5 separate regions of the Homo sapiens genome follow, and all the other regions are linked to region 3. The links are contacts of gene promoters, found by promoter capture Hi-C in human tissues and cell types (Jung and others, 2019). All regions are on one chromosome and are shown on one strand. The core of a region is centred on a gene start or on the middle of the fragment in contact, and the rest is flanking DNA. Distances in the headings are between cores, read along the strand shown.

Region 1 (3,997 bases), core at 1,487-3,986, 340 kb after region 3:
CACTGTGCCCAGCTAATTTATTAAATTTTGTTGTAGAGATGGGGTCTCATTATGATGCCCAGGCGGGTCTTGAATTTCTGGACTCAAGTGATCCTCCTGCCTTGGCCTCCCAAAGTCCTGGGATTATAGGGGTGAGCCCCTTTGCCCGGCCTAAATCTGGCTCTTCAGATTCCGAGAGAGAGGGTACAGGAGCCTCTCTGCTCAGCCTGAAGAACACCCAGAAGGAGGGAACCTCAAAGAGCCCCGAGATGGAAGGCTCTCCTGGCAGCGCCTCCTGCAGGGGTGCCTGTGGAACAGGCTGGCCCCAGGGCTAGGAGAGTTCATGGCCCAGTCTGCTTCACTGGGCTGCCACAGTGTGAAAGCTGGGCCTAGACCTGGCTCCTGACATCCTAGTGAGGGCTGGGACCTTAGTGGTTCTGAAAGACCTTTACTGGATGGTTCCTTCCAGAGTGGGGTATCGGATACACACACACTGCGGCCAGGCATTACGCCAGCTCCCGGATGCCTCAGCCTCGTGAATTCGGGGCAGGACGCTCAGGGCCCATGGTCAGCACAGCGGGTGGGTGGGTTCCAGCGTGGTCACTTCTCCAGGGGTGCATAATTGAGCAGCTTCTCGATCAGGTCCACGTGGGCCAGCAGCATCCGGCGGCAGCAGTAGCGCTTCAGGCCCAGGGCATCCAGCGCATCCCTGTGTCGAGGGGAGGAGCAGAGGCCAACTGAGTTCTCTACGGTCTGCAAAGGCCTGGAGCCCACATCCAACCTGCCTCTCACTGCCTGCTGGCCTCACCCCCCCCGCCACCGGCAAGGCGAACAGATTCACCCGGCTCAGAAGCTGAGATCTAGCAGTATGATCCTGGCTGGAGTAACCTGGAAATGCCCAGAACCCTGGGTGGAGCGTGAGGAGCCTCCTCTCCCACCTACTCTGGCTGTACGTGTGTGTGTATAACGTATGTAAGAAATGTAAATGAAATGAAAACGAAGTAATTGCGGGGAGCTTAGAAAACCAAGACCACCAAGGTGCTGATGTGCAGCCACCTCATCCAGCACTGGCCACGGCAGGGTAGCTCTCCAGGGGCCTGCCCTTAGCTGGTTCACCCCCACCCCAGCCAGAGCAAGCCCTGCTCTGCCGCTGTGGGGTCTTTCCTCACCTCTGCTTCCTTCCATCAGAGAGAGACTGCTTCTCCACGGAGCCACCTCTCCCACTTCCCAAGCCAATTAGAAGCTTTCATTTCCCTGGGACCTAGCTCCAGTCACCCTCAAGACCTCCAGAAAACTCCCACACCGATGGCTCCAATGTGCAGAGACACAGAAGCTTGGGAAAGGGGAGGCCACATGGGAGGCCCCTGCCGTTCCTATCCGGGGAAAGGGTCTGGACAGGCCGCCAGCCACTCAGTCTAGCAGCCCACTCGCTTTCCTCGTTTGTCCAGCAAGCTGCACCAAGTGCCGATGGCAGGCTGGCGCACACAAGCCCAGGGCTTCACATGTGACGAAGACTCAGTGGGCGAGGGTCAGACTCCAGCGGGGGCACCAAGACTCAGGCACCGTGGTGACAGCAGCACCAAGGGACAAGCACAGGAGAAAGACGCCTCCCCTACAAAGCCTGATGAGGGTGGTCAGCAAGTCTACCCTGCATTTCTTTTTCTGTGTGTGTGTGTGCGTGAGACGGAGTTTCACTCTCTCTTCCAGGCTGGAGTGCAGTGGCGTGATCTTGGCTCACTGCAACCTCCACCTGCCTCCCAGACTCAAGCGATTTTCTCGTCTCAGCCTCCCAAGTAGCTGGGACCACAGGTGTGCACCGCCATGTCCGGCGAATTAAAAAGATAGAGCCAGGCGCGGTGGCTCACGCCTGTAACCTCAGCACTTTGGGAGGTCGAGGCGGGTGGATCACCTGAGGTCAGGAGTTCCAGACCAGCCTGGCCAACATGGCGAAATCCCATCTCTACTGAAAATACAAAAATTAGCCGGGCGTGGTGGCACACGCCTGTAGTCCCAGCTACTCGGGAGGCTGAGACAGGAGAATTGCTGGAGCCCAGGAGGCGGGGGTTGCAGTGAGCCGAGATCGCGCCACTGCACTCCAACCTGGGCGACGGAGCGAGACTCCGTCTCAAAAAAGAAAAATAAAATAAAATAAATTTCTGGAGATCAGGGTCTCCCCAGGTTGTCCAGGCTGGTCTCGACCTCCTGGGCTCAAGCAAGCCTCTCGCCTCGGCCTCCCAAACTGCTGGGATTACAGATGTCAGCCGCCGCGCCCGCCCGTCCTGCAGCGAGGTTTGCAGGACATGGGGTGGGCCTGGGGGCAGAGATGGGAATAGGGCGGAGGCCAAGGGCTTTACTGCGGGTGACAAGACGCCTGCGACCCGCCAGGCCACCTAGAATCCCCAGGACACCACTGGTTTGAAGCCCAACTCCGTTCTCTTCCCCAGACTTCAGGGGATAAGGTTCTCCCGAAAGCAGATCACAGAGCGGGGCTGGAGAAGCCGGGCCTGAAGCTGCTCATGGGGCGCTGGCCTCAGGCAGCGCTGCGCCTCCCGCCCCGGCGCGCACCCCAGGGCGGACTCAGCCCCCAGCCCCGGCCCGCGCCCCACGGCGGACTCAGCCCCTAGCCCCGGCCCGCGCCTCACCCCTCGGTGTACTCGGCCTGCAGCAGCCCCAGGTAAGCCTCCCACTTGTTGCCGACGATCTTGCCACAAGTGAAGCAGCGTACAGGGATGATCATGGCGGCGGCGCGTCCCAGACTGCCCGGCCCGGCCCGGCCGCACGCGAAGAACCCCCCCAGGCCCCGCCCCGGGCGCGTCCACTGTTGCGGGAGAATCGGCTCCGCTCGTTCTCCGCTGTTCCGGCCGTCCCTCCACCGGCCCCGCCACCGCTGGCCGCAGTTTCCGCCGCGATAGGGGCTTCCCGTGCGTCCCGGGGCTCCTGGGCCTGTGCGTCCCGGGGCTCCCGGGCCCGCGCGGCCGCGGCAGCAGCAGACCGCACACCCCCGCCCACCGTCTTGGTGCATCCCGGCGCTACGGCGTCTGAGCAGGGCCGTAAAGCTGCGGCGGCGGTTCGCGTTTCTCGTGTCCGCTTGACTGACAGCTGCGCGGCGGGAGCGGGCGGCGCGAGCGGGAGGCGGCGGCGCAGGTACTGCGCCTGGGGGTTGTGGGGGCGTGCGGCCAGGGTCCCGTGGCCGGAGGTGTCCGACCGGGAGCGGCTGGAGCCGGACGCGAGCGGGGCGCGCGAGTTCGAGCCCAGAGCCGACACGCAGCAACAAGTGGGGTCCGGCGCGGGGGCTCGGGGAGAGGGCGGGCGGGGGCCGGGGCGGGTCTTCCTGCCGCCCCTCCTGGCCGCGCCGAGTAGTGGGTTCCTCCGCCTCGGCCTCTGCCCGCGGGGTGTCCGGGGCTCTCGGCGCTGAGTTCGGGGGTCCCATTCTGGACGCGGCCCAGCCCCTAGGGGCGCCGCCCTGGCCTCAGCTGCGCAATTACAGCCCCCGCCGGCAGCTCCCCGCCCCGGGCTCCTGTCCGCGTTCTTTCCGCTCTTTCCCGGGAATGGGGTCGGGGTGCGCCCTCCCGGGTCCCGGCTCTGCTGGCTGCTCGCCGTCCCGAGCTCCCGACGCTCAGACGCGCCTCTGAGCACGGGGAGAGGGGACCCGGGAGGGAGGTCGGGGAGGGAGTCGTGGAAGAGGTGCTTTTTGAGCTGAACCTGGAAGACCCCGGCACAGGGGATCCCTGGGCAGACTCCCGGAGGCTGCACTGGCAGGACCCCCTGAAGGCCTCAGCTCTGGCTTGCCCTGGAGCTCAGGGCCTACGGACGACGAGGGACGAGGAGCCCGTGTCTCTCGGATGGAGTGCGGGGGGGCTGGCACCAGCACCCTTCTTGCTGTGCCCCTGGGGTGGGGGTGAGGAAATGGGGGGTCGGTGTGCAGTGAGAGGCAAAGAAGGCTCCTTGGAGGTGCGAGGTGGGCTGTGGGGGTGGGTGGGCCGCAAAGCGGCACCCATGGGGGGCTCTGGGCTGGTTT
Region 2 (4,021 bases), core at 849-3,348, 310 kb after region 3:
GAGGGTGCCAGGGATGTCCATAGGCTCCTTGCCTCTTTGTTGGGCAGATGGTTTTTTGTTGGCTTCAGCTGAGCTGGTGGAACTTGTTTGGAAGTTGAGCTGTTGGGGCAGCTGTTCTTGTCTTCCATGCATGTGACCACGACAGGGCCAGCTCAGCAAACGGGCCAAGCCATGAACACAGCGTTGTGGCCAGAGATGTGGATACTGGGGCAGCACACTCATTCCCTACCTAGTTATGAACATGTCTGTCCAGTGGACCTCTGAGGGTGGAGGTGGGGAAATTGGGCAGGCAGGCAGTGTGGGCCTAATTCCTAGAAGGCAAGTCCCTGGATAGGAAAGGTGGGGAAGAGAAGTCCCCGTTGAGGAGTGGCTCAGGGAGGGAGTGTTCAGGAAGAACGGGAGACACTGGCATATGGTGGGTCCAGATATGTTGGGTGCCATGTGCCATCTCTGGTGCCATCTAACTTCCCTGTGGAACAGCCTCCCAGGCTGGGCAGCTGCTCTGGTCTCACCTCTCTGCTTTCTGTAGGTATTGGCAAGCTTGCCAGTGTACCTGCTGGTGGGGCTGTAGCCGTCTCTGCTGCCCCAGGCTCTGCAGCCCCTGCTGCTGGTTCTGCCCCTGCTGCAGGTAAGTGGTGGCCTGGTGAGTGGGCAAGGGGCTGGGGCTCAGACGGTGTTGCTGCAGTGGGGTCTTCATGGGGGGACTGGCCTGGCACTTGGGCAGTGCTCACCATGCCTCTCCTCTGTTCCACAGCAGAGGAGAAGAAAGATGAGAAGAAGGAGGAGTCTGAAGAGTCAGATGATGACATGGGATTTGGCCTTTTTGATTAAATTCCTGCTCCCCTGCAAATAAAGCCTTTTTACACATCTCTCAAGTATTCCATGAGCACTTTGTCAAGGGTGGCCTCTGCCCAGGTTCTTATCCAAGAGGGCAGGTGTGGAGCTGAAGTGTGGGCAACATGGTATTGGGGAAGCGTTTCTGGTGCAAAATGAGCATGAGGAGGGGAGTCTGGGCATCACAGCTGCCTGGGGTCCCTTCCTGTGGCCTTGAGCAGTATCCTAGCTCCTGAGTACACCCCAGAAGAATGCGAACGGGCTGGGCACAGTAGCTCGTGCCCATTATCCCAGCACTTTGGGAGGCCGAGGAGGGAAGATCACTTGAGGCCAGCAGTTTGAGACCAGCCTGGGCAAATAGCAAGACCCCATCTCTAAAAAACAACCTAACAAGGCGTGGTGTGCACCTGTAGTCCCAACTATGGGAAGTTGAGATGGAAGGATCACTTGCCCAGGAGGTTGAAGTTAACAGTGGGCCGTGATAGTGCCACTGCACTCCATCCTGAGCAGCAGAAACCCTGTCTTGAAAAAAAAGGACAGCAGAGAAGCTGATTTCAATGGAGTTTGGGTAATCAGGGCTCTGTCTTTGGGGTGGCTTGGTGCCTGGACTTGCAAGGACAGGATTGGTAGCCCCTGGGCTCTACAAATGGATGCAGGAAGTGAGCCCAGCTTGGGGGTGGCAGACGCCCCTGGGTTTCCCTGCAGGGGTCATGGCTCCGCCATAATGCCCTGAGCAACTTGGGCAATCACTCCTCAGGCTTGTTTTTTTGCCGATCACAGCCCACCCCTGCCTTACTGGGCAGATGTGCTCAGGGCTTGTGGGAAGTGACCACAGGGCCATGTGCTCACTGAACTAGGTCCTTTGGGGATGGGCCTGCCCTCCCCCGACAGGCTCTGTCCTGGAATACAGGGCTAAGGACAGAGGCCATCACCCTCCCCTCCCAGCCTCTCTGCCCTCCTGGCCTTACTCCGTACGCAGTCTCCCAGGCCTCAGGGTCTTTGCCCGCCAACGTAGGCACCCAGAAGATGGTCTGCCACTCCCACCCTAGGCTTGGGGTCAGCAACCCACCCGCTGGCTTTGGTGTGGGGAGCACCTGCTGTGTGACCACCTTAGTTCTGGGAGGATAAATAGGCTATAGCACAGAAGACAGTTGGGGTGGCTGGGGGAGGCCTCCCTCAGATGGGAAGGCAAGACCTGGAGGAAGGCAGAGTCCCTGGAGGGGAAGGAATGTGGATTGTTGGAGCCAGGGAGCCACAGAAAGTACTGAGATGGAGGGGGACCCAAGATGCTTTTTATTTATTTTGTTTTTTTTCTTTTTGAGATGGACTTTTGCTCTTGTTACCCAGGCTGGAGTGCAAGTGGCACACTCTCCACTCACTGCAACCTGCGCCTCTCTGGTTCAAGTGATTCTCCTGCCTCAGCCTCCTGAGTAGCTGGGACTACAGGTGCCTGCCACCAGTCCCAGCTAATTTTTTGTATTTTTAGAAAAGATGGGGTTTCACCATGTTGGCCAGGCTGGTCTGGAACTCCTGACCTCAGGTGATCCGCCCGCCTTGGCCTCCCAAAATGCTGGGATTACAGGCATGAGCCACTGCGCCTAGCCTTTCTTCTTTCTTTCTTTTTTTTTTTTTTTTGAGACAGAGTCTCGCTCTGTCGCCCAGGCTGGAGTGCAGTGGCGCCATCTCACTGCAAGCTCCGCCTCCCGGGTTCACGCCACTCTCCTGCCTCAGCCTCCAGAGTAGCTGGGACTACAGGCGCCCGCTACCACGCCCACCTAATTTTTTGTATTTTTTTTTTTTTTAGTAGAGATGGGGTTTCACTGTGTTAGCCAGGATGGTCTCGATCTCCTGACTTCGTGATCTGCCCGCCTCGGCCTCCCAAACTGCTGGGATTACAGGCGTGAGCCACCGCGCCCGGCTACCTTATTTATTTATTTTTTCCAGACGTGATCTCACTCTGTCGCCCAGGCTGGCGTGCAGTGGCATGATCTCGGCTCACTGCAACCTCCACCTCCCAGGTTCAAGTAATTCTTCACCTCAACCTCCAGAGTAGCTGGGACTACAGGTGCCCACCACCACGCCCGGCTAATTTTTGTATTTTTTTTTTTAGTAGAGACGGGGTTTCACCGTGTTAGCCAGGATGGTCTCGATCTCCTGATTTCGTGATCTGCCCACCTCGGCCTCCCAAAGTGCTGGGATTTCAGGCATTATTTATTTTTTGAGACAGAGTTTCGCTCTAGTCGTCCAGGCTGGAGTGCAGTGGCACGATCTCGGCTCACTGCAACCTCTGCATTCCAGGTTCAAGCAATTCTCATGCCTCAGCTTCTTGAGCAGCTGGAATTACAGGCACGCGCCTCCACACCTGGCTAATTTCTGTATTTTTAGTAGAGATGGGGTTTCATCATGTTGCCTAGGTTGGTCTCAAACTCCTGGCCTCAAATGATCCTCCTGCCTCGGCCTCTGAAACTGCTGGGATTACAGGCGTGAGCCACTGTGCCTGGCCTACATTTATATTTTGTTTTATTTTGTATTTTATCTTATATTTTGAGTCGGAGGCTCACTGTGTTGCCCAGGTTGGAGTGCAGTGGCAGGATCTTGGCTCATGGCAGCCTTGACCTCCCAGGCTCAAGTGATCTTCCCACCTCAGCCTCCAGAGTAACTGGGACTACTGATGTGTGCCACCAACACAGCTAATTTTTGTATCTTTTTGTAGAGATGGGGTTTCACCACGTTGGCCAGGCTGGTCTCAAACTCTTGGCTCAGGCAACCCACCTGCTTTGGCCTCCCAAAGTGCTGGGATTACAGGTGTGAGCCACCGTGCCCGGCCTTAATAATATTTTTAAAAAAACCTTTTTGGATGCCCGTAAAAGCAGAGATTAGGGTGGGAGTAAAGCCAGGTGAGGAGTGGAGGAGGCCGGAACCTGGGTAGTAGGGGTGGGGCAGCAGATGGAGGAGGAAGCAAAGAGAAATGACCCCAGCAGGGTACAGCTAAGGAGTGCAGGGAGCAGTGCTCACTACAACGGGGCAGGGGTGAGGCGGGGGCTGGGGATCGCCCAGGCTCAGGGAGCAGTGCTCCCTACAAGGAGGCAGGGGTAAGGTTGGTGCTGGGGATGGCCCAGGCTCAGGGAAGGGGCCCACAGCAGGAGTGGACCTAGGCTTCAGGGTGCAGACCTCACAATTCCAGCCT
Region 3 (4,067 bases), core at 576-3,075:
TCTTATGCAGAGACAGTAGGTTTTGAAGATGGAAGAAGGTGGCCTCTAGAAGTTGGAAGAGGAAAAGAAGCAGATTCTCCTTGGGAAACTCCAGAAGGAACTACCCTTGCCAACACCTTGATTTTAACCTCCTAAAACTCACTTCGGGCTTCTGAGCTCCAGGCCTATAAAACAGCCTGTGACAAATTCGTTATAGCAGGGATGAGAAAATAGCTCACTGCAGCCTCCTCTTCCAGGGCTCAAGTGCTCCTCCTCCCTCAGCGTCCCAAGTAGCTGGGACTACAAGCGTTCACTACCGCAACTGGCTAATTTTTTCTATCTTTTGTAGAGACGGGGGTCTCACTATTTTGGCCAAACTCAGTATGTTGGTCGCAAACTCCTGGGCTCAAGAGATCCGCCCGCCTCGGCCTCCCAAAGTGCTGGGATTACAGGCTGCAGCGCACCCAGCCTAATGTAACTTTTTTTTTTTTTTTTTTTTTTTGAGAAGGAGTTTCGCTCTTGTCAGCCGGCTGGAGTGCAGTGGCACGATCTCGGCTCACCGCAACCTCCGCCTCCTGAGTTCAAGCCATTCTCCTACCTCAACCTCCCAAGTAGCTGGGATTATAGGCGCCTGCCACCACGCCCGGCTAATTTTGTATTTTTAGTAGAGACGGGTTTTCACCATGTTGGCCAGGCTGTTCTCGAACTCCTGACCTCAGGTGATCCGCCTGCCTCTGACTGCCCGGCCCAGTGTAACTGTTAACGGCAACATCGTGTGCAGTCTCCGGCTTGCATTCGGTTTAGTCAGCCAATCGCTAAGACGACACTTGAGACCGTTTTCAGATCTTTAGGCTTTCCACCATCCTAGAAGGGGGCCTGCCTGGTTCTAAGGCCCTTCTGAAACACTGCCAAACTGTCCTCGGGAAACGGTGCAGAAGTCCTCTGGTTTCCCCCAAGGCGCGTGGGCACCTTGGCTGGAACCTCGCCCAGTAACACGACGTGCCTGGGGCCCCTTCGTCATTTCCGCCAACCCCGGTGACAACCCTGACACCGGCCCCTAAGTGCCATTCCAGTTATGTTGCTCTCCTCCCCGCAGCCCCAGGCGGCAGCTTCGCGGCCCGGCGTCCGGTCCCCCGGTGGTCCCGGAGCGAAGCTCCGCAATGGAGAGCGGAGGACCCTCCCTCCCCGACCTCGCACGACCAAGACCGCCCACCTTTCCCCCAACGCCCGGCTGTGGGAGCCGTTCGAGTCTTCTCCGCCAGGGCGCTCCTTCCCGGGAGGCCGCTTCTTTGGGGGAATAAGGTCAAGGATTACGGGATTTGGGGAAGCAAGCTCGGCTGGGCCAGGATTGCTTGCGTAGCTCGCTGGAATCTAAGGCACTAGAGGGCTTGACGGCCACGTGAGGACGAACCACGCAGGCGCAGCCCCGCGCCCCGGGCAAGGACTTCCGGCAAGCCCCAAAGGGGAGCGTGCACCGCGATGACGTCCTCAAGGCGCGCCACGTCCGCCCGGCGGCGCAGCTGCCCAGCGCAACCTCGGCCCCGCCTCGATAGCCCCGGACCCCTGCCCCGCCCGACCCCGCCCCGCCACGGGAGCGCGCCACTCGCCCGCGCAGCAACGGCCTCAATAGCGCCAGGCCCGCGTCTACAAGAAGCCCGACCAAGGCCGGCGTGGGCGAGGCCTGGCTAGACGCTGACGCACCGCTGGAGCTACTGACCTCGGGACGACTGGCGGACGGTCGCGGGCCTGGAGACCCAGAGCGAGACGGCCTACTTCGTTCTCGAGCCAGCAGAACGGGTTGAACGTGTCGACAACCCCACCCGCCAGTCAGCGGCGCGGGCGTGTTCGAGCCGGCTCGTGGGCGTGGTCAGGTGCGTGGGCGGGGACTACTGGGCGGGGCTCGGCGCGGGGGCGGGGCCTGGCGGGAGTAGTCTCGGGGTCGGGGCGGGGCCCGGCGGGCGGGGCTCGGCTAAGCACAGTCTTGGCGCAGCGGCGGGGCCTGGTGGGGCGTGGCTCGGTGAGGGAGGTCTCGCTTGGGGGCGTGGTCTCCCCCAGTAGGCGGGGCTTGGTGCCGGGGGCGGGGTCTGGCGGGCGCGGGCGCGTGTGCGTGTTGTGGGCCTCGCACTGGCACGCAAGTCTCAGCAATTCCTGAGAATCCTCGGAGGAAGAGGCCGGGGCCCGGTGCGGCAGCGCCTTGGGGGCGGAATCGCAGGCGCGGGTCGGGCCTTGCTGGGGCGCGGGGCGCGGCCCCCGGAGAAAGCGGCCGCCTCGGGACAGGAGGGACCCGGGAGAAACCCCCCTGGGGCGGCTCCGCATGTCGGGGTCGCGACTCTAGGCGACCTTGGTAGAGGGGCTCGTTTGCGCCGAGCTCGCGACCCCCGAGGGAGCCACGGCCCCGTGAACCACGCTGCCCGTCCTGGCCACTGGCTGCCGCCTTTGTTTCGTGGGACCCCAGCCCGCAAGGCCTGCGGAGCCGCGGCCTCGTCCCGAGTGTTCTGAGCGCGGTCCGAGCTGCTCCTGCGTCCACTCTGCTGCCGACACCCGAGCGTCGCCTGGAGCCCTGGCACTGAGGGGCGCAGGCCGAGTTCCAGACCAGCCTGGGAAACGCAAAGCGACCCCACCTCCACAAAAGTGGGTTTTCTTTAAGTTTTTGACTAGTCCGCAATTCACAGAATTGACATTTTGGCAGATGAAGATTGCAAGTAAGGAAACTAACGGTATCTCAGATTTGTTCTTTAGCAATTTGCTAAACCTCTCCTCTGACTGCCTTTATTAGGTATTTGTTTTCGAGACAGGGTCTCACTCCACTGCTTAGGCTGTACTGCAGTGGCGCGATCCCAGCTCGCTGCAGCCTCCACCTCCCGGACTCCAGTGATCCTCCCGCCTCAGCCTCCCAAGTAGCTGGTACCACAGGCGCCAGCACGCCTGGCTAATTGTTGTATTTTATGTAGAGAAGAGGTCTCCCTGTGTTGCCCAGCCTGGTCTTGAATTGGGCTCAAGTGATCCTCCTGCTTCAGCCTCCCATATCGCTGGAATTACTGGCATAAGCCACTACACCCGGCCTGATCATCTTTAAAGAAGGTGGTTCTGGCCGGGCGTGGTGGCTCACACCTGTAACCCCAACACTTTGGGAGACCGAGAAGGGTGGATCACCTGAGGTCAGGAGTTCAAGACCAGCCTGGCCAACGTGGTGAAACCCCATCTCTACTAAAAATACAAAAATTAGCCAGGCATGGTGGTGGGCACCTGTAATTCCAGCTACTTGGGAGGCTGAGGCAGGAGAATCGCTTGAACACGGGAAGCAGAGGTTGCAGCGAGCCTAGACCACACCATTGCACTCCAGTTCGGGCAACAAGATGAAACTCTGGCTGGGCGCGGTGGCTCACACCTGTAATTCCAACACTTTGGGAGGCCAAGGCAGGCAGATCACCTGAGGTCAGGAGTTCAAGACCAGCCTGGCCAAGATGATGAAACCCCATCTCTACTAAAATTACAAAAACTTAGCCAGGCATGGTGGTGCATGCCTGTAATCCCAGCTACTCAGGAGGCTGAGGCAGGAGAACCACTTGAACCCAGGAGGCAGAGGTTGCAGTGAGCCAAGATCGTGCCACTGTACTCCAGCCTGGGCAACAAGAGCGAAACTCCATCTCAAAAAAGAAAAAAGAAACTCCGTCTCAAAAAGAAGGTGGTTCACACACACACACACACACCCCCAAGAAAGCTCAGGGCTGGAAGGCAGCCAACCTGGCTGTGACCCTCATCCTGCACACGTGAGCTTGGTGACCAGTAGCTGATTCTTTAACTCTCTAAGCTTTGGAGTCTGGATGTGAGGTTTAGAATTCATGACAAGAAGCTGGAAGGATGCCGCCAGTCTGACTCCTGGACTGGTTCTCTTGACATCTTTGCAAAAGCTGCTGAAATGTTCTGGTTTCATTTCATTCTTTTCTTTGCCATGATCTCTTAGATTTGTTCGTGGCAATTCTCATAAGAGTGAAGAAAATGTTTAAAATGGCTGTTGGGCTCCCTTTTGTGACACCTTGTGGGGAAGGTGCCCAGGTATGTATAGGTGCTGAGCGCACGGCCAGCAT
Region 4 (4,447 bases), core at 1,694-4,193, 400 kb after region 3:
CTGACCAACATGGTGAAACCCCATCTCTACTAAAAATATAAAAATTAGCCAGGTGTGGTGGCGTGCACCTGCAGTCCCAGCTACTCGGGAGGCTGAGGCAAGAGAATCGCTTGAACCCAGGAGGCAGAGGTTGCAGTGAGCCAAGATCATGCCACTGCACTCCAGCCTGGGGACAGAGCAAGACTCCATCTCAAAAAAAAAAAAGAAAAAAATCGTAGGCTCAGAGAAGCCTACGATAATAACGATGATGGTGGTGATGCCACGTTAAGTACTAGGAGAAAATATAGCTACCTATTTATGCAGTCTCAGGGTGGAGAAGGCTTTTCCAGCTATATGAGCAATGGGAGAGATTAGGAAAGAAAATACCACTGGAGTAGAACTACATACAAATGTAAGACTTTCATTCAGGAAATAAAGAAGGAAATGTGAAGACAAATAATAAACCAGAAAGAATATTTGGAACACACTTGACAACGGATTTCTACCCATAATCTATTCATAACATGCAAATAAATCTCACAAATCAAGAAAAGACATTCCAGTAAAAAATGTCCCGGCTGGGAACGGTGGCTCATGCCTGGAATCCCAGCACTCTGGGATCCCAGCCACCACCACACCTGGCTAATTTTTGTATTTTAATAGAGATGAGGTTTCACCACATTGGCCAGGCTGGTCTCCACCTCCTGACCTCAGGTGATCTGCCCACCTCGGCCCCCCCAAAGTGCTGGGATTACAGGTGTGAGCCACTGCGCCCGGCTGTGGGACTTTTTTTTTTTTTTTTGAGTTGGAATCTTGCTATGTCACCACACTGGAGTGCTGTGGCGCCATCTTGGCTCACTGCAACCTCCACCTCCTGGGTTCAAGCGATTCTCCTACCTCAGCCTCCCGAGTAGCTGGGATTATAGGCGCGTGCCACCACATCCGGCTAGTTTTTGTATTTTTAGTAGAAATGGGGTTTCGCCACGTTGGCCAGGTTGGTCTCAAGCTCCTGGCCTCCCGTGATCTGCCTGCCTCCCAAAATGAGCCACCGCGCCCAGCCATGGGGGATTTTCCACATACGTTGAAAACATGAGGATGTTCATGGACCTGGCTCTCCCAGATGCTGGAACACAGACAGGCACTGCCATGCTCGTGGTGTGCCGGTCAATGAAGACGCTACAAGACAGAACTTCCACAGTTCAGTCCCACAGAGAAAGCATGTAGGGAGGGGTGGTAGAAAGCAAACGACATGCCCTTCACGTGGAAGCTTAAGAAACAAAACAAAAAAGTAGCCTGGGCGCGGGGGCTCACGCCTGTAATCACACCACGTCGGGAGGCCAAGGCAGGCAGATCACCTGAAGTCGGGAGTTCGAGACCAGCCTGACCAACATGGACAAACCCTGTCTCTACTGAAAATACAAAATTAGCTGGGCGTGCTGGCGCATGCCTGTAATCCCAGCTTCTCGGGACGCTGAGACAGGAGAATCACTTGAACCTGGGAAGCAGAGGTTGCGGTAAGCCGAGATCGCGCAATTGCACTCCAGCCTAGGCAACAGGAGCAAAAACTCCCTCTCAAAAACAAAGAAACAAAACAAAAAATAAATGAGCAGGCTATCTGGAATTACTGGTCATTGTTTCTTCTCTTTTACTTTATCTGTATCTTCTGGTCTTCCTGCACTAAACTTTTATTACACTGTTCACTTTCAGGTTCTAGGGGCCACCAACAAAAGTGATTCTACTTTCCGGCCGGGCGCGGTGGCTCACGCCTGTAATCCCAGCACTTTGGGAGGCCGAAGCGGGCAGATCACGAGGTCAGGAGATCGAGACCATCCTGGCTAACACGGTGAAACCCCATCTCTGCTAAAAATACAAAAAATTAGCCAGGCATGGTGGCAGGCGCCTGTAGTCCCAGCTATTCGAGAGGCTGAAGCAGGAGAATGGTGTGAATCCAGGAGGTGGAGTTCGCAGTGAGCCGAGATAGTGCCAGTGCACTCCAGCCTGGGCGACGGTGCGAGACTGTCTTTAAAAAAAAAAAAAAAGTGATTCTACTTTCTATCTTTCACTGGGGTTGGGGGCAGCGGCGGTGGGAGCTGAACCACCACCATAGCCCAGCCAGACTGTTAGTCCTTCATGAAGCTTTGGGACACTGCTGGGAAGAAGCTCTTGGCTAGTTTCACAGCTCTGGCAGCACAGACCCCTCTAGACCAGCTGAGAGGCCCACACAGCCTGGGCAGAGGCAGATACCTGACAGGTGGGGAGCTCAGCCCAACTCACTACCCAGCAGCTGGGCACATGGCCTTCCCCTTGGGTCACAGGCTCCTGAGTATATGGGAGCTCAGGCCCAAGAGGCTCCAGGAACCCCAGCCAGGCAGGTGCACCTGTCAGAAGATGCTGCCAGAGCCAGGCCTACCACAGTGCCTACCCTCCTACCCAAAAGACTCCCTGGCCAGGAACCTGTTTTCACTTCCTCTGAAACCGTCCCCTTGACCTGCTTTCTTCTGCAGAGGCACACGCTGCCCCACTTTGCCCTGTCTCTTCCCTGGGTGAGACTGGTGCTCCTGGTGCAGACTGAGGAGACTGTGGCTACCCCCAGGCAGGGAGTTTGCATGCTTTGGTACCCAATACACCCACAACACACCTGCATAGAAAGAACACGCTCCTGGAGCAAGATCAACCAGTGAAGCTCCCCCACCTAGGAGGCAGGGAGCCACAAGACAGCCTGACCTGCAGGCTTATGGGGAGTTAGGAAGGGAACTCACAGGGCAAGCACAGCAGCACCCAGTACATGGAGCCACAGGCAAAGGCAGTGAGTGCTTGAACAGCCACGGCAGTTCCGAGAGGCTGTGCAGGGGGAATAAGAAGGCCCAGGCACAGATCACCACCCTCTGCCCCGATCAACCTCTCCAGCCCCTCTCCTCAGTGATACATCCCAGAATCAGAACCAAGGGCAGCAGCCTGCTGCCACCTCCCCTTAGCCCCACTATCTTTCTGCTGCAGCTGAGGCTTGGTCTGAGTCAGCAACAGCCCCAGGGAAGGTGGGGAGGGTTCTGGCCATGGCACAGGGAAGACGGCCCAGAATCACTTGCCTGGCCAGGCTGAAACGGTGGCTGCCTCAGCTCCCAGGCACCCAGTCTTTGACCCCAGCCCATTCCATGACCACTGGCTCCTTCTCTGTCTTCTGGGTGGAAATCTGGGTCAGGGAGGAAGGAAAGGAATGAAAAACCAAACGGTGGTTCTCCAGGGGACTGGCCCAGGAGTAACTGGAGGGCACACTCAGGTACCCAGTGACCAACCACTATAGGGCTGGGTCTCTGCCCCTACCTGCCGTCCTGCAGATTTGAAACAGGGCCACTGTCCACCCACCTAGTGGCCCCTCTGCCTATGACCTCCCTGCCCCCCAACCTGTGATTTCACACTTCAGGGAAGGAAGAGGAAAGGGTGGAAGAGGAAGACAGTCCTGCCAGCATGTGTCCAGCAGAGGGGACACTAGGAGAACCTAACTGAACACAAGGCCAGGGTACTGCCTCTGTCCACTCGCGCTTAACTTGCCCGCTCTGTGATGGAGTGCTTGGATACAGGCTGCTCACAAATGCTGGGCTGCTTCTTTGACTTGCCATGGAACTTTCCAGACAACTGCCCCAGGGAGATGGTGTGTGTGATGTGTGAGGGGTGCTCACACTGCAACCAGGCCCTTGTCTGGGCTTTGGTACCTCTCCCGCTCCCCACTGCTCACCGGCCGCTCGGCTCTGAGGCCCGTGAGGACACTCTCCATCATGCTCTTCACATAACACAGACTCCCAGGTTCACACACACTGTGTTCCTGCATCAAACCGTTTCTTCCCCAAATGCCAATGACCTTCCCTTGGGCAGAACGGCCCCGCACACAAAGGGAATGTGTTGTGTTATGAAGAGGCACAGGCCCCGACCCTGGTCACCCAAAGGGGTCCCAGAAACCGCTCTGTAACAAGATAAGGTGGAGCGCTACTGCTCCCACTTTCCTGCGCTCCCAGTCCGTAGGTCCAGGACCTCCTCGGTGGTGTTGATGGAAATGATGGGAGTCACAGCAGGGGCTTTCCAATGCTTTTCATGGAGACCAGCAGTAAGAAATGCACTTTACGTCACAGCCCAGCACACGTGTATGTCATGTGTGCACATGTGTTGTGCATGTGTGTACATGTGTAGAGCGACAGCAGCCAATCAGAGCTAACTCTATTCTGCGATGGACGCACTGACAACTCCTGTTCTGTTGTGTTTTGAAGAACTAACTGGTGCATGGCGGCTCTGGCCTGTGATCCTAGCACTTTGGGAGGCCAGGAGTTTTTGACTGGTTTTGGCAACACAGCCAGACCTGGTCTCTACAAAAAATATTTTTCTGCCGGGCAGATCACCCCATCAGGAGTTCAAGACCAGCCTGGCCAACGTGATGAAACCCAGTCTCTAAAAAAGATACAAAAATTAGCTGGGTGCA
Region 5 (4,246 bases), core at 552-3,051, 280 kb after region 3:
ACCCTTGGGCTCCGGGGTTGCATCGGGACTGCTGGGGACCGTGGGGGCTGGCTTCAGGTTGCTGTGGTTGTTGAGAAGGGCAGGGTCGGCCTTGGCCGAGGTCTTCTTGGCAGGTGCCGTGGTGGGGGCTGCTGGCGGCTGCTGCTTCTCGGCCGGGGCCTCCTTCTTCGAGGGCTTGGTCAAGGGGGCTTTCCCATCGGCTGCCGGGGGTACCTTGGCCTCGGTGGTGACCTGGGGCACCTTGGTGTCGGGCTTGGGGCTGCTGGCTGACTTCCCTCTGGACTCCATGGTGGGCGGGGCGTATGGGACAGGCAGGTGGCTGCACCAGAGGGGCTCAGGACAGTTTGTCGCCCCTGGGCATTCTATGGGCCTGGAGGGAGACACAAGGGAGGCTGCGCGCGGGTCCAGTCCCCCCTGTGCTGCCCCGACCACCTGGTCCCCAGGCAGCCCCTGCCCAGTTCTCTGGACTCTCTGGAGCCCCAGCTCAGGGGCCTCCCGTGGGCCTCTGACACTTCTCTTTCACGGCCTGGACTCCATCTGTCCATGACCACTCCTCAAGGGGCCCCTCCAGCCGCAGAGGCAAGGGCCACGCACAGGTGGGAGGAGGTAGGGGACCCCACTGTGCTCCATAAAATGGCCCATGCAAATGCCACATCCTCCCACCAGCCGGGGGCAGGAGGCTCTTGGTGGGGAAGTAAGGATCAGGCCCAGAGAACTCGAAGGAAGAGCATTCTCCCCTCCAAGGAGGTGATCGGAGCCCCAGTGGGAGAGCTGACTGCATCCCCTCCTCAGGAGAGCATTCCTGCTTTGCAGAGATGGACACTAAAGCACGGAGGCTGTGACCTGGCCAGGGTCCCAGGGGGAGGAGGGCGGGGAGGGGCAGGAGCTGGGATCTCAGGCAGCCATCAGGGTGGGTGGGCCCACAAGAACCCAGACTTGAGAAAACTGGGGTGTCTCTCCAGGAAGTCAGCGTGGGGCTGTGCTTCCAAGGGCCGTCTGCCCCTCCCCAGCCTCTGGGGCCCCCTCCTCAGCATGGGCCGTGCCTGCCTCCAGCCCTGGAGCAGGGAGTCCTCGCCCAGCCCAAGGCTGTGCTGTCTCTGTGGGCAGAGGGTTCCTGGCGTTAAACAGGGTGGGCACATGCTGCACTTGGCCCGCGGGTCAGGGCGGAGGACAGGGTTCTGGGCTGTGGGAAAGGCGGTGCCCAGATTCTCAATGACCGAGGCAGAGGTGGGAAGGGCCCTGGGGGCCCAGCCGCCCTGAACCTGAGTGGGTCTTGCCCCAAAGCCCCAGAGGCCGCCTGTCTGCCTCTCCCAGGGAAGGATGAGAAATGCCCTCCAGACCTGCAGAGAAAGGGAGGCACGTTCCCCACCCCCCGCCAGGTGCATTGACCACACTGAAGGTCACCCGAAGGTCACAGCATGATGAGGGCGTCTCCAGAAGAGGCCCAGCTGCTGCCACCTCCCAGGGAAGCCCAGCCGTCCCTTCACCCCTGCAGTTCTCGGGGGGCTCAGCTGCTGGGCATCAAGTTTGCAAAGAGCAGGTGGTCTGCCCCCCCAACCTCGCTATTTGTGGCACTTACATCCCGGCCGCCGCCTCCCTCTCCCGGGATCAACTGAGCCCTGGAGAACTGGGGGGCCCGCGCGCAAACCCAGTGACCTTCAAGGCCCGGAGCCGCCTCCTCGCCCCGCAGGACGCCGCGCCCGCCCCGCCCGCCCCGCCCGCCGGGAGCCCCCCGCCTTACGCGTCCTCCGGCCTCCCCGGGGCTGCGCGCTCCTCCGCGGGATGACGGCGGCTGCGAACGCGGAGGAGAGCTCGGGAGTTTCCCACAATGCACTGCTCCCGGCGCAGGAGGGCGGGGAGGGGGAGGGGCGACCGGGCCCCGCCCCGCCGGGAACCGTGGGATCCGCAAACCCAGCTCCGCCTTAGATCCAGGGGTAGAAACTTAGGGTCCGAGAGAGCAACTGCGGGGTCCAAGTCCCATCTGGGACTGCCAGAGGCAGGAGGCGGGTCCCGCTCAGCATCCCCTCTAGGCCAGGGTGCCCCTTGGTCGGTGGGTGACGGGTCGGTGGGTGAGGGGTCGGTGGGTGGGTGCGCAGGCCTAGCCCTGCAGTCTGAAGGGAGCCAGTTATGGGAAGAGGGGACTGCCCTCCCCCGCCCCCAAACAGACCCCCAGACAGACAGCAGCATCTACTTAGAATATTTATTTATTCTCTGACATGACAAGACACAAAAAGTTACAACTTCTTAAAACTCTTCAAAAGAAAAAAATATAATTCTGTAAGCAGCAGCAGCAGCTTCCAAGGTTCTGATGTGACGGGAGGGGCAGCTCCCAGGAGCAACCGTGAACTGGGGGGGTCCAGGCCTGAGCCCCAGGTAGTGTCGCTGGGAAGGGGCCTCTGTGGAGGGCCCCGGTTTTGGGGACACAGCACCAGCACATCAGGGTCTGTCACCAACACGATCACATGGCCAGGGCGGGGCAGGGAGAGCTTCGGCTCACAGCAGGGATCGCCCGGTGGCAGGGGGGATGGGGCTTCTGAAGTGTGGTCAGGGGCCTTATGCCCGGAGGCGGGAAGGATGGGGCTTCTGCAGTGTACCCAGGGGCCTTATGCAGAGGCTGAAAAAGGAGGGTGGGCCCTGAGAGGACTTGGGGGTGTGGCAGCTCCTGGCCCTCCCTCCAGAGCAGGGCAGGCACCCTCAGGCTCCACACTGGTCCCAATGCCCGCCCTGCTCCCTGGCCAATCCCAGGCCAGGGTGGAGGACTCAGGAGAGACCAAGCTGGGTAAGTTAGTTCCTGGACGGGGTCAACAGAGCCTGGGGCACACACAGCACACAGAGCGCCTGGCCACGGCGGGAAGGGGGGCAGTCCCCAGCAGCCCCATCCCCAAGGGCCAGGCCAGATCCCCACAACACACACACGCATGCACACACACATACACACACACATGCACACAGACCTCACAATCTGGGCCCCAGCCTGGGGTGGGAGCTGAGGAGCCCACCAGAAAGTCCCACAGTGGGTGGCGGGCTTGCCCCAAGAGTCAGACCTCAGGGCAACCCCTCACTTGGGATTCCTGGCTCAACAGAGAGGGCAGGAGACCCCAGTCCTCTTGCAAGGCTGGCCAGGGAGGCAGAGTCAAGTCCTGCCAAGGCGACAAGAGCGGCTGGGGAAGGACGGAAGGGCTGGAGAGCCGCTTGGGTCCAGCAGATTCAATAAATAGGTTTGTGTGGGGTGCCTGTGTGGGCCAGGATGGCTGTGGAGACTGGAGCTGGTGGACTGGGGGTATGGTCCAGCCTGCCCGGCCCAGGCCCGGGGGCCCCCAGCCCAGAGACCAGCTCTGTCCCTGGGGGTGTTCAGGCCAGGGCAGGATTGGGGCAGGGGCTAGCTTGAGGAATGTAAAGATTTCTGCATTTTCTACATAAATGAGACATTGATCCCAACGGTGCAGGCAGCACCCCGGGGGGCTTGCGTGTGCACCACCTATGTGGACCCTGCACCCTGCCCCCTGCTGCCCCTGCCGACGGGAGGGCTGGGGAGGGGTCTTCCCTTGCTCCGTCCTGGGCTAGCTGCCTGGCTCCAGCCCCACACCGGCCCTGCCCAGCTGGCTGGGGTGGAGCGGGTGCTGGGCTCAGGCCTGGGGGTCCTGCAGCAGCCCCAGCAGGGACTCCGCGATGCCCAGGAAGTAGACCACCTGTGCGATGCCGAAAAGGGGCGCGATGACCAGCGCGCGGCAGTAGGCGCCCTTCAGGAAGGCCGAGGGGCCCTCGTGCCGCAGGATCTTCCTGTGGAGGAAGGACGAAAGGGTCAGCCCGGTACGCAGGCCCCCAGGCCCCACCCGCCGTGGGACCTCCCCACCTGGCACAGTCCAGGATCCCAGAGTAGGTGTCCTCGTTGACGCCTCGCTGAAGTGACTGGAGCCGCGTCTTCACCACTGCAAGGGGCGCTCGGGTCAGTGTGAGCCTGGCCAAGGGCTCAGTCCCGCCCCATCCCCAGCCGGGCGCCATCCCATGCACTGACCATCACAGGGGTTGACGGCCACAGCGGCGGCACTCCCAGCCACACAGCCGGCCAGGAAGGACACGTAGAAAGGCGACTTCTCCTCGGACGCCGGGCGGCCCAGCTGGTTCAGGTTGGCAAAGAGCGGGAAGTACACCACAGAGAAGGGGACATCCCTGTGGGGAGGGAGGTGGCCGTGGGGACAGGAGGTGGTGGGGTGGGCAGGCCGGCCTCCCCCTTCCCTCCCCCCAC

Evidence for each region. Contacts are between HindIII fragments. The study calls those that stand out against the background at their distance.
Region 1: the fragment with the promoter of POLR2L here is called in contact with the fragment with the promoter of RNH1 in region 3 in 3 of the 25 tissues and cell types used here (aorta, lymphoblastoid cells and spleen).
Region 2: a fragment that was not itself captured here is called in contact with the fragment with the promoter of RNH1 in region 3 in 1 of the 25 tissues and cell types used here (spleen).
Region 4: a fragment that was not itself captured here is called in contact with the fragment with the promoter of RNH1 in region 3 in 1 of the 25 tissues and cell types used here (spleen).
Region 5: a contact is called between the fragment with the promoter of CEND1 here and the fragment with the promoter of RNH1 in region 3, in 2 of the 25 tissues and cell types used here (bladder and dorsolateral prefrontal cortex).

The regions. Positions count from the first base shown.
Region 1 is chr11:839,793-843,789 of GRCh38, forward strand. POLR2L (RNA polymerase II, I and III subunit L) reads right to left here and starts at 2,737. Exons shown (of 2, transcript NM_021128.5): 1 at 2,622-2,737; 2 at 1-688. The coding sequence starts at 2,716. The coding sequence ends at 580. TSPAN4 (tetraspanin 4) reads left to right here and starts at 3,060. Exons shown (of 9, transcript NM_003271.5): 1 at 3,060-3,123. RefSeq lists silencers at 221-270, 2,499-3,128, 3,239-3,328, 3,349-3,578, 3,564-3,732 and enhancers at 996-1,740, 1,741-2,486, 2,487-3,230. The HindIII fragment of the contact is 28,886 bases long and covers 1-3,997 here.
Region 2 is chr11:812,006-816,026 of GRCh38, forward strand. It overlaps RPLP2 (ribosomal protein lateral stalk subunit P2), which reads left to right. Exons shown (of 5, transcript NM_001004.4): 4 at 530-628; 5 at 755-871. The coding sequence ends at 831. Among named protein-coding and RNA genes, the nearest start is that of SNORA52, 2.3 kb to the left of the region's middle. RefSeq lists enhancers at 1-41, 42-782. The HindIII fragment of the contact is 3,735 bases long and covers 232-3,966 here.
Region 3 is chr11:505,417-509,483 of GRCh38, forward strand. It overlaps RNH1 (ribonuclease/angiogenin inhibitor 1), which reads right to left and starts at 1,826. Exons shown (of 11, transcript NM_203387.3): 1 at 1,697-1,826. It also overlaps a transcript of LRRC56 not described here. RefSeq lists an enhancer at 1,095-1,264 and a cis regulatory region at 1,180. The HindIII fragment of the contact is 14,362 bases long and covers 1-4,067 here.
Region 4 is chr11:905,477-909,923 of GRCh38, forward strand. The region is part of intron 1 of CHID1 (chitinase domain containing 1); the gene reads right to left. Among named protein-coding and RNA genes, the nearest start is that of CHID1, 3.1 kb to the right of the region's middle. The HindIII fragment of the contact is 5,018 bases long and covers 435-4,447 here.
Region 5 is chr11:788,289-792,534 of GRCh38, forward strand. CEND1 (cell cycle exit and neuronal differentiation 1) reads right to left here and starts at 1,802. Exons shown (of 2, transcript NM_016564.4): 1 at 1,742-1,802; 2 at 1-370. The coding sequence starts at 288. It overlaps SLC25A22 (solute carrier family 25 member 22), which reads right to left. Exons shown (of 10, transcript NM_001191061.2): 8 at 4,016-4,170; 9 at 3,854-3,929; 10 at 2,187-3,780. The coding sequence ends at 3,627. RefSeq lists a silencer at 1,713-1,942. The HindIII fragment of the contact is 19,046 bases long and covers 1-4,246 here.